Regions from separate parts of the Homo sapiens genome. Here region 2 is linked to region 1. Evidence: promoter capture Hi-C in 16 types of primary human blood cells and fetal thymus (Javierre and others, 2016). All regions are on one chromosome and are shown on one strand. The core of a region is centred on a gene start or on the middle of the fragment in contact, and the rest is flanking DNA. Distances in the headings are between cores, read along the strand shown. Region 1 holds the start of C11orf87 (chromosome 11 open reading frame 87). Region 2 overlaps DDX10 (DEAD-box helicase 10).

Region 1 (7,127 bases), core at 3,254-5,753:
GCCTTAGTCATTCTGATGTACAGTGTAGAACTCTGATGCACTACAGGATTCCCTAGTGGCCTGAGGGAGTTAATGCACTCTTTTACCTATTACTAGGAAGTGACTAAGGCACTGGAGAAAAACTGGTTCATTGTTTAATATATTGTACCCAAAGATTATACCTGGTCTTCCTAATATTACAAGATGGCATGCTTCAATGATGATCTTCTGTGCTTCAGGAAAGGTGATTATCTTATGGGTGATTAAAATTAAGTTTATTAAATTATTTTTATAAAAGATGCAAACTGAGCTTGGGCAATTTAATAGATGACCAAAAATATTAGAGGTAATGTTTCCTCTGGATAAGAGCACATATGTCTGGACCAAGTAGACAATTTAGAACAATGAGTTGCTTGGGAGAGGGATGCTCATAGGGGCACTGTTGCCTTACACCCTGCAGGATAGTAAGGACTCTCTTGGTAGAGCTTTTTGCAGATCACTTTCATTCATACATTTTCCAAAAATTTGAATAGCTGTCAAAGGCTTGATTTCCAAGAAGAGATGTCACTGCATATAATTAATATTGTAATATGCTTCTGGCTTCTTCTGTCATTCAACCAAAGGAAACAAGGTGGTAAATAACTATAGACTACTTCCATTTCTAACATAGATGGCCTTGTCTGGCATTAGAAAATAATAAAATATTTATCTTATTTTCTCACTTTCTTTTTTTCTCAGTATTTTTGTATGTTCAGTGAAGTTAGGACAGACTGAGAAAGAGAGCCTTTCTTTTGCTGCAGGCACAGATTTGTAACTAAACAAACAAGCTGCAAACATTTGTATCCTATAAGTAATTACTGGATCTAGCTTTTCTTGAAATTCGCATGTCTTATCATCCAAATTGCCCAACATCCCCACCAGTCTCATCCCCAACCACATACAGTACAAGCAAGCACACACACCACTGCCTCCAGGTGGTAACTGCATGCAGGGAGAACTACAGGCACTGTTTAAATATTAACCATGTTTTTAATAGATGGCATTCTTGCACATCCATTATTTGTTTGTTTCTGTGGTTGTGTTTTTTCTATTATTTGCAAAAGAAAAAATAAAGCGTGTGTGTCATCTTTTTATAACAGTCTACTACAGAATAAGGTACAAAAGAACACTTCTGGAAACAGCAGAAGCCAGGTCTGCACCACTGAATTTCTCATCCAGTGGTAACCATTATATCAACAGCTGGAAATTAAGAACAATAATATACAGTTTGGAGGACATAGTACAGAACTATAGTTTTTTTCTGTATTTGGTACCAATATACTAAATATATAACAAAGGTGCACTTGTTCTAAAAATAAAACAAACGTTCTAGTTGGTTAGATACTGCACTTTCAGTACTGCACATCACCTAATACTTTTTTTTTTTTACAAAAAAGGTAACTTATGCAATGTTTAATAATAAGAAAACCAATAGTACACGCTAACTCGATTGTAGAAAAAGAAGAAAGAACCCAACCAAAAGCCAGAATAGTCACTTTCCAAAACAGCCCCTCCTCTGCCTTCACAACTAGAGGAAGTAATCAGAACGGTGAGGCGACTTCAGCACCAGACCTGGCTGGACAGCTCCCAGATCCTTTGTAAATCCTGAAAATGTCACAAGTCAAAGGTGTACGGGTGGGGGCGGGGCAGGGAATGAAAGCGTTAGCTTTTTAAAAAAAACTCATTTAAAGATTTTAACGTACTTATGCTCGGCCAGCGAGGGTCATTTTAAAAAGTAAATTAAATGCTCTGTCCTGGAAAATGTAATGGTTAACCAAAGGGTGAGAAATGGGCGGACTGGCGAGGGGTACCTGTCATAAACACTTTCCGGGGACTATTCTCTATGGCCTCTTGCAGTCCTGGTGCTTAATGTAGACATTTTCTTTATAATATACTATTGCCTGAGCCCGGCTGAGGGTGGGAATGGGGAGGAAAGGGAAGCTAAAGGAAAAGTGAAAGCTTAGGGGTCAGAGGGGAAGGAAGGAAACTAAATCTTAACTTGACAGCTATGTACATTACCGGGCCCCCTCCCCTCCCTTTGCTCCGGGAATCAATGCCTTTTATATATTTGGTAGCTTGTGCGGTTTCTCCTCCTAATTGAGGGGAGCGCGGGGTGGAATGGGAAGATGCATCCTCCATTGACAGTTAGAAATTATGTGATTTGTCATGCGCTTGGATTGTGTTATTAGTATTATAATAATTACTATAAATATTAATAAAGTATTATTATCAGCGTTATTTCTTCTTCCGAGACTTTCCTCGCCCAATATTTACAAATACCGCACAGTGCCTCGGCGGAGGAGAAACAAGAGTAAGGGGAGGGCAGGTAAGGAAACCAGGAAGAGGAAAGAGGGGCCAGAGGAAAATGGAAAAGGAAGGAAGAAGGAAAAAAGCAAGGGTGGCAAAGATGCTGGAAACGAGGACGGGGAACGAGAGGGGCTAGACGATCAGGACAGTACCACCGTTTGCAAAAGGCCCTCGCCAGCTGTGTCCAAACAGGAGGAAGCTGCGTGTGCTCCTTGGGGACTGGAGGCTGGCGGTGGAGGCGGAGGAGCACAGGGACCCTGGCACGGGAGGCCAGGGGACGAAGAGGACAACGACGAGGCGTTGGAAGGGGCGCAGAAGGGAGAGTCCCGGGGCTGCCTCTCCAGCCGGGTTTCCTTTGCGTGGGTTGGGGCCTGCCTGCCAGGTCGGGGCAGCCCCCCGCCACCGCGGCTGCCGCTGCAGTGATCCCGCTCATATTCCTCCTGAGCCCTCTGCATCTTCCGCTTCTTCATCCTACGCTTGTGGATGTGGAAAGTGGAGAGGGACAGCACGATGAGGCAGAAGATGAGGGTAACCAGGACAATCAGCACCAGCGTGGAGGAGAAGGACTGGAAGAGCTGCTGTCCCACCTGCGTGATGCAGGTGCCGCTGCCTACTGCGCCTGGGCCGCGGGCACCCGTGTTGCCGCTGCCGCTGGCGTTGGGGGAAGCAAAGGTCCGGTTGAGGAGACACGGCGGCAACGCCAGCCTCAGCTCCTTCGGCGCCCTGGCACTCATTGGCGCGGGGCTGGGAGGGGCCAGGCCCACTAGGCTTCCCCTCTTGGGCACACCGTTCCTACCAGCCAAGAAGAGGACGGAGCCCACGCCACCCAAAACTGCTCCCTGTAGCGGGAGGGGGTGTGCGAGCGAGCCAAGGACTAAGGGAGCAACTGCTGGCAAGCAAGGCGACCAAGGAGTGAGCGGCGCCCGAGAGATCCTCGCCGATACCACCTCGAACACGTCTCCACGCTCCCCTTTCCTTTGCAGAGGCACCAGGCTGCAAAGACACAAAGCTTAGTTAGAATCTCGGCCGCTGCCCAGGGGAGTGCTGTCGGGAAAGATCAACCACCACCGCAAAGCGGCCCTCTGGGCACACTGCCTGAGCTGGGCGCTGCCTGTATTTTCGGTCAGCGGACCCCAGCCTGCCGGCCCGTGGCCGTGCACCAGAGCCACCAGCAGCCTGCTCATGCCACTCGACAGGATGGGGTCTGCGCCGGCACCGCGGAGGTGCAGATTACTCAGCAGATAAGGCAGCCTCCCTTCCGCCCTTCACAACTTTATAATTGCAACAGACACGCAGCCGCTTTGGTTGAAGTCCCTACTTCCCAGAGCGCCGGCTCTCCTCTTTTCTGCGCCCTCTCGGTTGATGTCTTCGCCTGGATCCTACCCTTCCCAGCACCCACTCCGGGCCGCCGCGCGGGCTCCGGGTACGCAGTCCTCCCTTCCTTTCCCTCCCCGTCCAGACTCGCCCTCCCTGGACAGCGTCAGATCCCTTGGGTCCCATTCCCAGGGGGATACCCCTGGCACCACATCCCACTCTGCCTCTGTCCGCGACCGCGGCTGACGCGCAGGAACGCGCTCCATCTCTTCTCCAGCCTTCTTCCCTGGTATTCTCCCCTCTCCAAAAAAAAAAAAAAAAAAAAAAAAAAGCAGCTGAAGCATCTTTCTCAGCTGACACATTCCCACAAACGGCCCCCTCCTCCCCATTTCCCTGTGCCCCCAACTTGGCAGTAGCCTGCTTCTTTCTAGAGGAGCTGGAATGGAAAGGGGAGGGTTCCCGCCTGCAAAGTTTGGGGAACGGGACCTTCTTTCTGTCCTTCCCAGACCCAGCCCAAAGGCCCCGAGGCTTTTCCGGCATACTGGAGCCGGTAGACCCGCAGCGCACAGGAGAGCCTCCTTGCTGCTCCCAAGAGGCAGCTGCAAACTGTTGCACTGCGGAGTAGCGAGGTAGCGCGCAAGCAAGCCAGGGCAGGGGCCGGGGGCAGGGGCGGGGGCTGGAGCTATGGCCAGGGGTGGCTGCTCAGGCCGCGTGAGCTGTCCTCCCCACTCGCACCTGGCCGTCAGGCCACCCGGCCATCAGAAGCCTTTACTCACACCTTGTCTCTTACCTGGACCGCCGGCTGGCTGCAAGGAGGGAGCCCCCGCCGCGCGGCTGCAGTGGCGGCTGCAGAAAGCGTGGAGTGAATGGACCAGAGACCGAGCCGCGCTGCTGCCGCCGCCGCCGCCGCCGCCGCCGCCTTCGCCGCCGCTTCAGGGAGCTGAGCTCGCAGCCTATTGCCAGAGAGGCCGGTGACGTCAGGCAGCCACCGCCAGGGCTCCAAGCCACCCCTCAGGCCCCCACCCACCCTAGTACCCCAACACCTTGTCCTAGCATAGCGAGCCTCTGACACACACTTCCCAGTTCCCTGCCCTTCTCCAGCCCAGGAACTAGGAGGAGCAACCCCTACCTCCACCCTGCAAGCAACCCACCTTTCTCACTCTCTTGCCTAGGAAGAGTTGAATCTTCAGTTCTCCAGCTGTCTGATTTCGTTCTAGAGCTGACCCTTTGGTCCCAGAATCACATTTTTACACTCTGGATAGCCATCTACCATCGGTGCACACATCACCGGTGGTGATGAAAATTTCCCCCACCGCTAATTCCTCTCTGTGCTGCCCGTTTCTGAACATAAACTGCGTGCATTAGAGAGATGGCAGGGACGTTTCTCAACATAAGTGTGACAGAACCCAAAACACAAACCTGAACAAATTAAACAATCCAAATTAGCCATTTTTCTCCACTGGAGTTTCCAAGTTATCTTTCGCTCCATCTGATTCAAGATCCTCCTTCTTGCATCCCTCACATCTTCATCTCCAGGCCCCAGACCCACTCAATGTATTAAACACTCCTTCTATTCTGACAATCTAGACACTCATGAGCACACAAACCCTAGTCTTACAAGGAAGAAATATGAAATTATTCACAGGAAGGCAGAAATGAACTGCCTTATGAAAATTCCAAGTATTTGTAGCTTGCACAAAGTACCCCTTCATTGACCCTAATTCTTGGTAAAGTGTTTGGAGCACAACTTTTAGCAAAATACATAGAACTTCCAGAAAAGAATTCAACAGCCTCCCTAAATCTTGGAAGAGACTAGTTAACTATTGGTTTAGGAGCCTTGGAAAAATATGAATAGTGCATTTGGTTACAGAATCCAGCTTTGAAATGGAGTATGCTCATTTTTCTGTTGGAGAAGCTAGCTGGGAACAGTACCTAAAGACATTGCATGGTCTTTGAAGGCACTCAGGTGTCTTACTAAACGTGCGTTTTCTTCTTTGCTCCCTGTCTTCTTTTCTATCTTTGAGTCTAGCACAGTGCCTGTAGTTTACTTGATAAATTGAATGATACAGTGTATGTTGTTGCTCTTTCCTGCAATGCATCAGAAATGACTGATGCCCAGTTATCTGCTTGTATTTGCTGTATTTGTAAAGAAAGAGGGTCTGATATGTGGAGGAAAGGCTGTCTGTAATCTGGGGGTCCCTTCTTCGGACTCTGTGTTTAGGGTCATACAGTTACTGATGTCTGCCCCCCGCCCCCACCCCAATGCTAGCCTCACCTTCCTGACTGGAATGAGAGCACCAGATGCCTGCAATAGCCACCTGCCACATTTGGACAATTTGACTTTGGTGGGCTTAGGGGATGGAATGGTGAGCCTTTTTATTTATTTATTTATTTTTTACGCTGTGACTAAGTGACACTTTACCATTGATGCCTGACAGGCAATGTCCCATTTTTTCACACTCGCTTTGCTCCTGAAAAGTTGAGTCTAATAAACATTTTGTAAAGCAAATCCAATTTTGGATTCTCCAAAAAGAGATCTGGCTATTTCAAGAGACTCTTTAGCAAAAAATAAAAAATTTTTTAAAAAATGTTATTTTGTAAAGCAAAGAATTTTTATGCAATTAGAATTAACTCTTGGCCAGGCACGGTGGCTCATGCCTGTAATGTCAGCACTTTGGGAGGCTGAGGCAGGTGGATCACCTGAGGTCAGGAGTTAGAGGTCAGCCTGGCCAACATGGTGAAACCCTGTCTCTACTAAAAATAACAAAATAAATAAATAAATAAATAAATAAATAAATAAATAAATAAATAAAAGCCGGGCATGGTGACAGGCACCTGTAATTCCAGCTACTCGGGAGGCTGAGACAGGAGAATGGCTTGAATCTGGGGGACAGAGGTTGCAGTGTGCCAAGATTGTGCCATTGCACTCCAGCCTGGGCAACAAGAGTGAAGCTCCATCTCAAAAAAAAAAAAAAATTAACTCTCAGTCGTCTGTTTTCTAGATTTGAAGGAATTAGTTATTGGGCTTTCCCTATGGGGAATATACCTTTACAACATGTTGTAATGGGATTACAATATGTATGTAATGGGATTCTTCTTGCACACCAAGCTTCTAGGACATGTCAGAAGGCTTCCAATGTTATTCTTTTGTTACAAATGATAGCCATCTGTTATACCAGGAGTGCTAAAGCTGTGTGCATTATTTTATACACCCTATGAAAAGACAAGATCTTAATCTGGAGAACTTATACTCTACAGCAGATAAATGTGATTCACCAGAAAATGGTATTTAACTAGCAATGATTTAGGTAGATTAAAGACATTAGTTTTCAGATCAAAAGCATAGTACCCTTTTTTGTCTTTTCTCTTTCAAGAATAGGCAGTAGGTTCATAATTTATTCTTACCCAGAGGACAAATGTACTAAATACGTAGATTTGGATGTCATTGGGTAGTGTGTTTTAAACCCAAGGAAGAGCAATGACAGCAA
Region 2 (7,127 bases), core at 1,408-3,907, 700 kb after region 1:
CCTGATGTATAGTATTAACAAGTGAGTTATTAAGTACAAAGTAGAAAATCCAGTCAGGCATCATATGTTTAATGGAGGAAAAAAAAAAAGGCCTGCAACAATTTCTTTTGTTCTTCCTTGTTTTGTTTTTTTCACTCTGAGAAAAGGATATTTGCTCAGTCGAGCTGCACTGTCACAAGCAGAGGCTGCTCCCTGCATCAAAGGCACTTGTGAGACGATGCCACTGAGTGGATGCAGAATCATATTTTATGGTAGTTACTGAAATGTGGGTTATTCAATCACTCCTCAGGGACTGATAGTTTATCAGGCCAGGAGCAAGCTGTGATGTGCTAAAACCTCTCTGGATGGAGATGAGCAGATCTGAATATGGTCTGGAGGAATTTGTGACCCTCCTTCAATAAGAGCGGCATAAGGAGGTATTACGTAGTGTCACTGGGGCCCTCTTAGAACCCTGTCGATAACCCAAAGAGACCTAGGTCATCTTATGCCCTAATATGTGTAAGCTCGGTAATCATTTGGGGGTAAAATTTTTGAAACAATTACTATAAAGTAAGTGTTTACATGAGATAAGGAGAAGATTCCTATCTTGCATTTTCGAACTGTAGAATCAGTTCCATGTTATGCTGGTGAGAGTAGTGAAAGTGAAGGAGAGAAGAAACCTGCCAATTAGTAGAACTCTTTAAACGGAGATTCAAAAAAAGGATATTAACCTAAGTATCCAACAGCAGGAGAATGGTTAAATAAAGGTTAATGGCATATTAGGCAACCATAAAAATATTTGCGAAGACACTTTAATGACATGGGGAAATATATATACCTAGGAGCATCTCACTTATTTAAAAATGGGTATATGAGCAGGGCACAGCGGCTTACTGCCTGTCAGCTCAGCACTTTGGTAGGCCAAGGTGAGAGGATCACTTGAGGCCAAGAGTTTGAGACCATCCTGGGGAACACAGAAAGAACCCACCTCTACAAAAAAATTTTTAAAAATTACCCAGGCATGGTAGCATACACCTGAAGTCCTAGCTACTCAGGAGGCTAGGGCAGAAGAATCGCTTGGGCCTGGGAGTTTGGGGGTACAGTGAGCCACAATCATGCCACTGCCTTCTAGCCTGTGTGACAGAGCGAGACCCTATTTCTAAAAAAAAAAAAAAAAAAAAAAAAAAAGAACAAATGTGTATGTATACTTAAAAAAACAAAGACAGTTGTTATCTCTAGGTGGTGAAATTACAGGTTATTTTTATTTTTATTTGTGATTTTCTGTGTTTTACTAGAGATTTTCCACCAAAAATAAGCATTTTATAATCTGGGTAAAAGGGTATTTTACAGGAAATTTTTCTCAAAACCACTCTTGCAGAGTCCCCCGCCCTGCCCCTCAAGAACAGAGCACTCAACCTTGGAAGAACATCATCTCTGGTGCCCTGGATGTGAGAAACACTAAGTCTGAGCAGGACTGAGAGGAAAGGAACCTAAGTTAGGAAAAGGGCTTGTTGTTGTTGTTTTCTTAGAATGAGCATTTAAATTTTTACAGCAATTTGCCAAAGTAATTTCATGTCTGTTGAATTTAAAAATAATTTTCAAATGGGCTTGTATACTGTGTGTGCTTTCTGGGTTTTTTTTTTCTTTTTTCATTTTTCTAGGACTTTTTTCCCCCAACTTAATAAAATTTGCATTTACTAAAATGTACCCATAAGGATCATGTTTTCACTCATCTTTAACCATGCCCTTGTCACAGCATAAAATGAAAATGTAGTTGTTCAAATAGGAACGCTAAAGTTGAAGGATGAAATAGTTGATGATCTCTTCACATGTATTTTCTATGTGTCCTTTCTAGGAATGACTAAAAAGACTTAGTCATTCCTAAGTGAATGTGAATCTATACTTGAAAGTATAAAACGGTCCAAACAAGAAAACTTAGACACTGACGTTAGGTAAGGACATTGTACCTTAGTAGTTAACATTTTAAAAAAAACAGAATGTGAATTTTTACTGTTTTGATTGTGGGTGTAATGGATTTTTTTAAATTAGCTATTAATTGATTTCTAAAATAGAAAATAAAATCAAGAACCCTACTGTTTAAAGTGAGAATACAATTCTGAATTTATTCATATGGCAATAAAATTCTGAGTATTTTTACTTGAGTAAACAAAAGACAACATTTCAAGGAATTTGGAATAAAGTAGAGAAGGCAGGGAAATGAACAACTGTGTGTGACAAGGGACACAAAGCAAAGTTAAAAGCCAGAGACAATAACTTTACTGTTTGAGGACATCTTACGAATCAACAGGAAAGAGACTAATATCATAACAGGGAAAAATATGTGTAAGCAATATATACACAAATTAAGAAAGAAATCATAACTTTCTAAATAACTGTTAATATTGATATAAATTATTAATATTCATATTGGAATCAAAAAGAGATTCAAACAATACAGACGCTAGTAGGGCAACGATCAACATGACCTCTATGCTGGCAAAACATATAAAAAGCTTTCAAAATGTGTCATATTCCCAGTCAAGTCATCGCAAAAAAAGAAAACTGCAAACCAATATCCCTCACAACAACAGAAAGATCCTTAACGAAAATATTAGCAAATAGAATCCTATAATATAAATATAAAGAAATCTTGCTTAAATGGAGTTTTTCAAAGGAATTTAAATTTGATTCAACATGTAGCAGGGGGAAATCAATACACCATAATCAACAGGCTAAAAACCACCACGTCATCACCTTAATGTTTACAGAAAAAGCATCTGACACAAGTCACAATTCATTTTATCATAAAAACACTAAGCCAGCTAGGAATAGATGGAAGCTTCTCAAACTCATAGGCATTTACAAAAAAAACTTACAGCTAACATCAGATGTAATGGTAAAAGACTGAATGCTTCCCCCTCAGTAAGATCAGGAACAACACAGCAATATCTACTCTCACCACTTCTATTCCACAGATCCTACTCGGTAAAATCAAGCAAAAGAAAAAGAAAGAAAAAAGAAATATATGGTCCACAGATGAAAAAGGAAGAAATGAAACCATCCTCATTCACAAACCTCATAATCAGTTACAAAAGAAAATCCCAAGAAACTCCCAAAAAGCCACAAGAACTAACAGGTCAGTTTAGAATGATCAGTCTACAAAAAACAAACTATTTCTATATACTGGCAACAAATAATTGGAAATTGAAATTTTAAAAATACCATTTATGATAGCATTAAAAAATATCAAATAGTAAGAGATGACTCTAACAAAATATGTGCACATTACATGTGCTTAAAGTTATAAAGCAATGCTAAAAAGACACTAAAGAAGGCCTAAATAAAAAGGTATTGTTATGATGTCAATTCTCTCCAGTTAGATTTACAGATTCAATGCAACCTCAATGAAGTCATCGGCAAGCTTTTTATACGAAGTAACTAGCTGATTCAAAACCTTACATGAAAATGCCATGGTCCAAAAATAACCAAAGCAATTTTAAGAAAATATATATCAGTTGACAGACTCAAAGATCTGATTTAAGACTTAGTATAAAGCTACACTAATCAAGATTGGTGTTATTGGTGAAAGGACAGACGTATCTTTGAAAGTCAACTGACTTTCAAAGAGTCAAGGTAATTCAATGGAAAAAGCATAGTTTTTTCCAAACAAATGGTACTGGATCAACTGGATACCCATATGCAAAAAAAAGTGTACCTTGACCCTTACTTAGCATTATATACAAAAATTAAGGTGAAGAGGATCCTAGCCCAAATTGTAAGTGCTAAAACTATAAAACCTCTGGACGAGAACATAGGAGAAAATCTGTGACTTTGGGTCAATCACAGATTTATCAGATACGACACATATATAAATTACCTAAAATGTGATTGAAATCAGACTTCAAAATTTAAGATACCTGCTCTTTGCCAGACACTCAAAATAAAAACAAGCCATAGATTGGGAGAAAGTATTAGCAAAATATATCTGATTAAGGATATGTATTCAGAATATACAAAGAACTCGTAGAACTTACTAAGGCAACACAATTTCAAAAGAGAGACAAAAGACTTGAAGACATTTCACCAAAGAAGATATATGAATGGCAAATAAGCACATGTAGAGATGTTCAGTCATTAGGGAAATGCAAATTAAAACTGCAGTAGGGTATCACTACATGCCTACTAGAATGGCTAAAATTAAAAGACTGACAATACCATGTGCTGACACGATGGGATGCAACTCGAACTCTATACACTGCTGGCAAGAACACAAATTGGAAGAGCTGATTTGGAAAACAACTGGGGAGTTTCTCAAAGTTAAATATACCCTTAACATATGTTCCCAGTAACCCTATTCCTAGAAAATAACCCCACTCGTTTCCCCAAGAAATGAGAAAATTATCTACATAAAAATGTATATGTTTATAATGACTTTTGTCATAATCACCAAAAAATGGAAACAACCAATGCCAATTTAAAGCTTAAGAAAACCTACATCCATCCAATGAAATACTTACTCAGCAATTAAAAGGAACAAACTACTGATGCATGCAATAACGTTAAGCTAAATGAAAGAAGCTAGACACAAAAGACTAAATACTGTATTATCCTATTTATATATCATTCTGAAAAATGCAACACTACAGGGGTAGAAATCAGATCAGTGGTTGCCAGAGGTTGAGTGAAGGGTAAAGCAATTGCAAAGGGAATAAGAAATGTTTTGGGGTGATGACGCTGTTCTATTCTTAATTGTGGTAATTACACAACACCATACATTTGCCAAAACTCAAACTGTATATATTAAAGAGTTAGATTGATTTAGATAACTGACATAGAGTAAAACTTTTTTAAAAGCTTAAAAAGTTGTTTTGCTATATACATTTTTCAAATGCCAGATGAGCTATTAGTACTTAGACACATGTCCTACTTACGTGAACAATTCATGGTATTATAAAACTATATCATTCCTTCTCATCTTAATTTGAAGCTTTGGTTATGTTCATGATTCTTAGAAAGTGATATACATAATAGTTAATACAGTGGCTAAATTATTTAAAACGAAAATCTAACTTCTTGTATTTACTTTGCTGATAAAATGAGTCTTAACTACAGACTTAAAATGATCTAATTTGAAGCAGGATGAGACAGTACAGGATTATTGGACAAGAGCATAAATATTAAAGTCAGAACACCTATGTTCAAATTCCAGCTTTGCCATTTACTACCTGTGTGCCTCACTACAGTACTATATTGCTTCTGTGCCACAGTTATTTTTTTTCCGTCACCTGTATAATGAGATAGTAGTAACGACCTTTATTTCAAGCACTAAATGAGATAATGTTCAGAAAATGACTAACACATAACACATATTAAGTGTTCAATAAGCACATTTTCTAGGTTTTTTTTTTAATTTTTAGTTACTTAAAGAAACACTCTTCTAAGTTTCACAGTCAAAATCTATTATGTATTTCCTACTGTGAATCTTGAAATTTTATTCAACATTGTATAAAGAGTAAGAATCAAGCTTCATTTTTTATTCAATTCCCTTTTAAAAAGATGATCAAGAATAAAGGCATATGAAGTAGGAAGGGGAATAAGGGAGAAGGGGAAACACATTTACTGTGCACCTACAAAAGCATCCTAGAAAACAAGTGCTTTATCTAAATGGATTATTTCTTTTGTTCCTCCTAGAAGATGGCTACGGAGAAACAAAGGATTTACAGGAAAACTTTTCATAAACATTCATAAGTAGCCTTTAAAAAAGAACTGTTCAATTTCTATTTAAGACACTGGCTTGGTTCCCATAAACAAATGTCGCACTAAGAGTAAAACTTATATTTAAATAATTACAACTGTTCCTTATAATTTAATCAATCAGAAAGCAGTATCTTAAGAATTTTAACGAAGGATCCTCATGCCATAAACCAAAAAACTTCATTGCCTTCCTTTGAGACTTAATCAGGACTTTGGCAACTTTTAAAACACAGCATCAGAAAACCAGTAAATAAGATTAAAGTTGTTAACCTCTTAGAGCTCCCAAAGTTATGAAAAATATGAAAATTCATTGGCACTTATTCTGTGTTTAAGTATGGGGGAAAGGAGGAAGAGTTCATTGCAAAGAAACCCAGTCTAAGTTTCTTAGTTTTCACTTTCTCTCAGTCCCCAAAAGGCAACAATAAGCACATAGTAAGACAATGTAATAGAAGACCCTCCACTGGGAGTAAACTTACCTGTAATGTTTTCTCGTCTTTAAGGTCCAATCCAAACACATTATGCCGCTTCACCTTCAAGAAATCAGCATCTTCTTCCTCCTCATCTCTGTCCAAGAACTGTGTAGGAACTTCCTTGATCTTCTGTGCCTCACTGGTGTTAGGAAGAGATGGGGCTTGAGATCCTTTTGCTTTTGCCAGTTTCTCTTCCATTTCTTCTTCATCGTCTTCTTCTTCTTCCTGTTCTTCATTACCAGTATCATTATCCTGTCTGTGCTCTGTCCCTTCGAGTCTTTTTCCACCTTTTTGAAGGATGGACATTTTCTCATTGAAGTAGGCTCTAAATTCTTCCACTTCGTCATTGGTGAGGGAGGGAGCCCTTGGCTCAATTACTTTATCGGCTTGGCTCCTTACCAATTCTTTGGTGGGTTGTTTCTGCATTTTCTGAAGAAATCTTACGCGTGGTGCCACAGCAAGACCAAGAGACCTTAAATATGGAAAAACGTGAAAACAGTCATCTCAACACTGATGATATGTTTATAGGTGTCATAGAAGAGTTTCTCAAGAGCAGAGATTCCTAGAGCTTTTTTAAAGAAAATGTTCCTGTGAGATACAACTCAATACTAACAGGTTAGTTGATCCAAAAAGTAAGGCAAAATACACTCAACACCTGTCAGAAAACATTTTAGACACTATTTTTTCTTTAAGAGGGTAACATGGAATAAGATAAAGAGCACTGGACCAGAAACAAGATAACAGTTCAAGTACTAGACCTGCCAATTTCCAATTCAACCCTCTCAGCTTCAGCTTCCTTATAACATGGGGATAACAGTACCTGCCAGGCCTAACTCACAGTTGCTGTAAGGATCCAATTAACTAACTACATGAGAGTACCTCATAAAATGTTAAGTACTAAATAAACCAGAGAAGACATGACCA

What was found. Contacts are between HindIII fragments. The CHiCAGO score rates a contact against its expected background, and 5 or more counts as called.
Region 2: a contact is called between a fragment that was not itself captured here and the fragment with the promoter of C11orf87 in region 1, in 1 of 17 cell types (M1 macrophages). The highest score is 5.6, in M1 macrophages.

Annotation. Positions count from the first base shown.
Region 1 is chr11:109,419,566-109,426,692 of GRCh38, reverse strand. It overlaps C11orf87 (chromosome 11 open reading frame 87), which reads right to left and starts at 4,503. Exons shown (of 2, transcript NM_207645.4): 1 at 4,430-4,503; 2 at 1-3,318. The coding sequence starts at 3,059. The coding sequence ends at 2,466. The HindIII fragment of the contact is 3,414 bases long and covers 3,337-6,750 here.
Region 2 is chr11:108,722,545-108,729,671 of GRCh38, reverse strand. DDX10 (DEAD-box helicase 10) reads right to left here. Exons shown (of 18, transcript NM_004398.4): 13 at 6,210-6,675. All of the region lies in intron 2 of LOC124902750 (a long non-coding RNA gene), which reads left to right. Among named protein-coding and RNA genes, the nearest start is that of DDX10, 61 kb to the right of the region's middle. The HindIII fragment of the contact is 326 bases long and covers 2,495-2,820 here.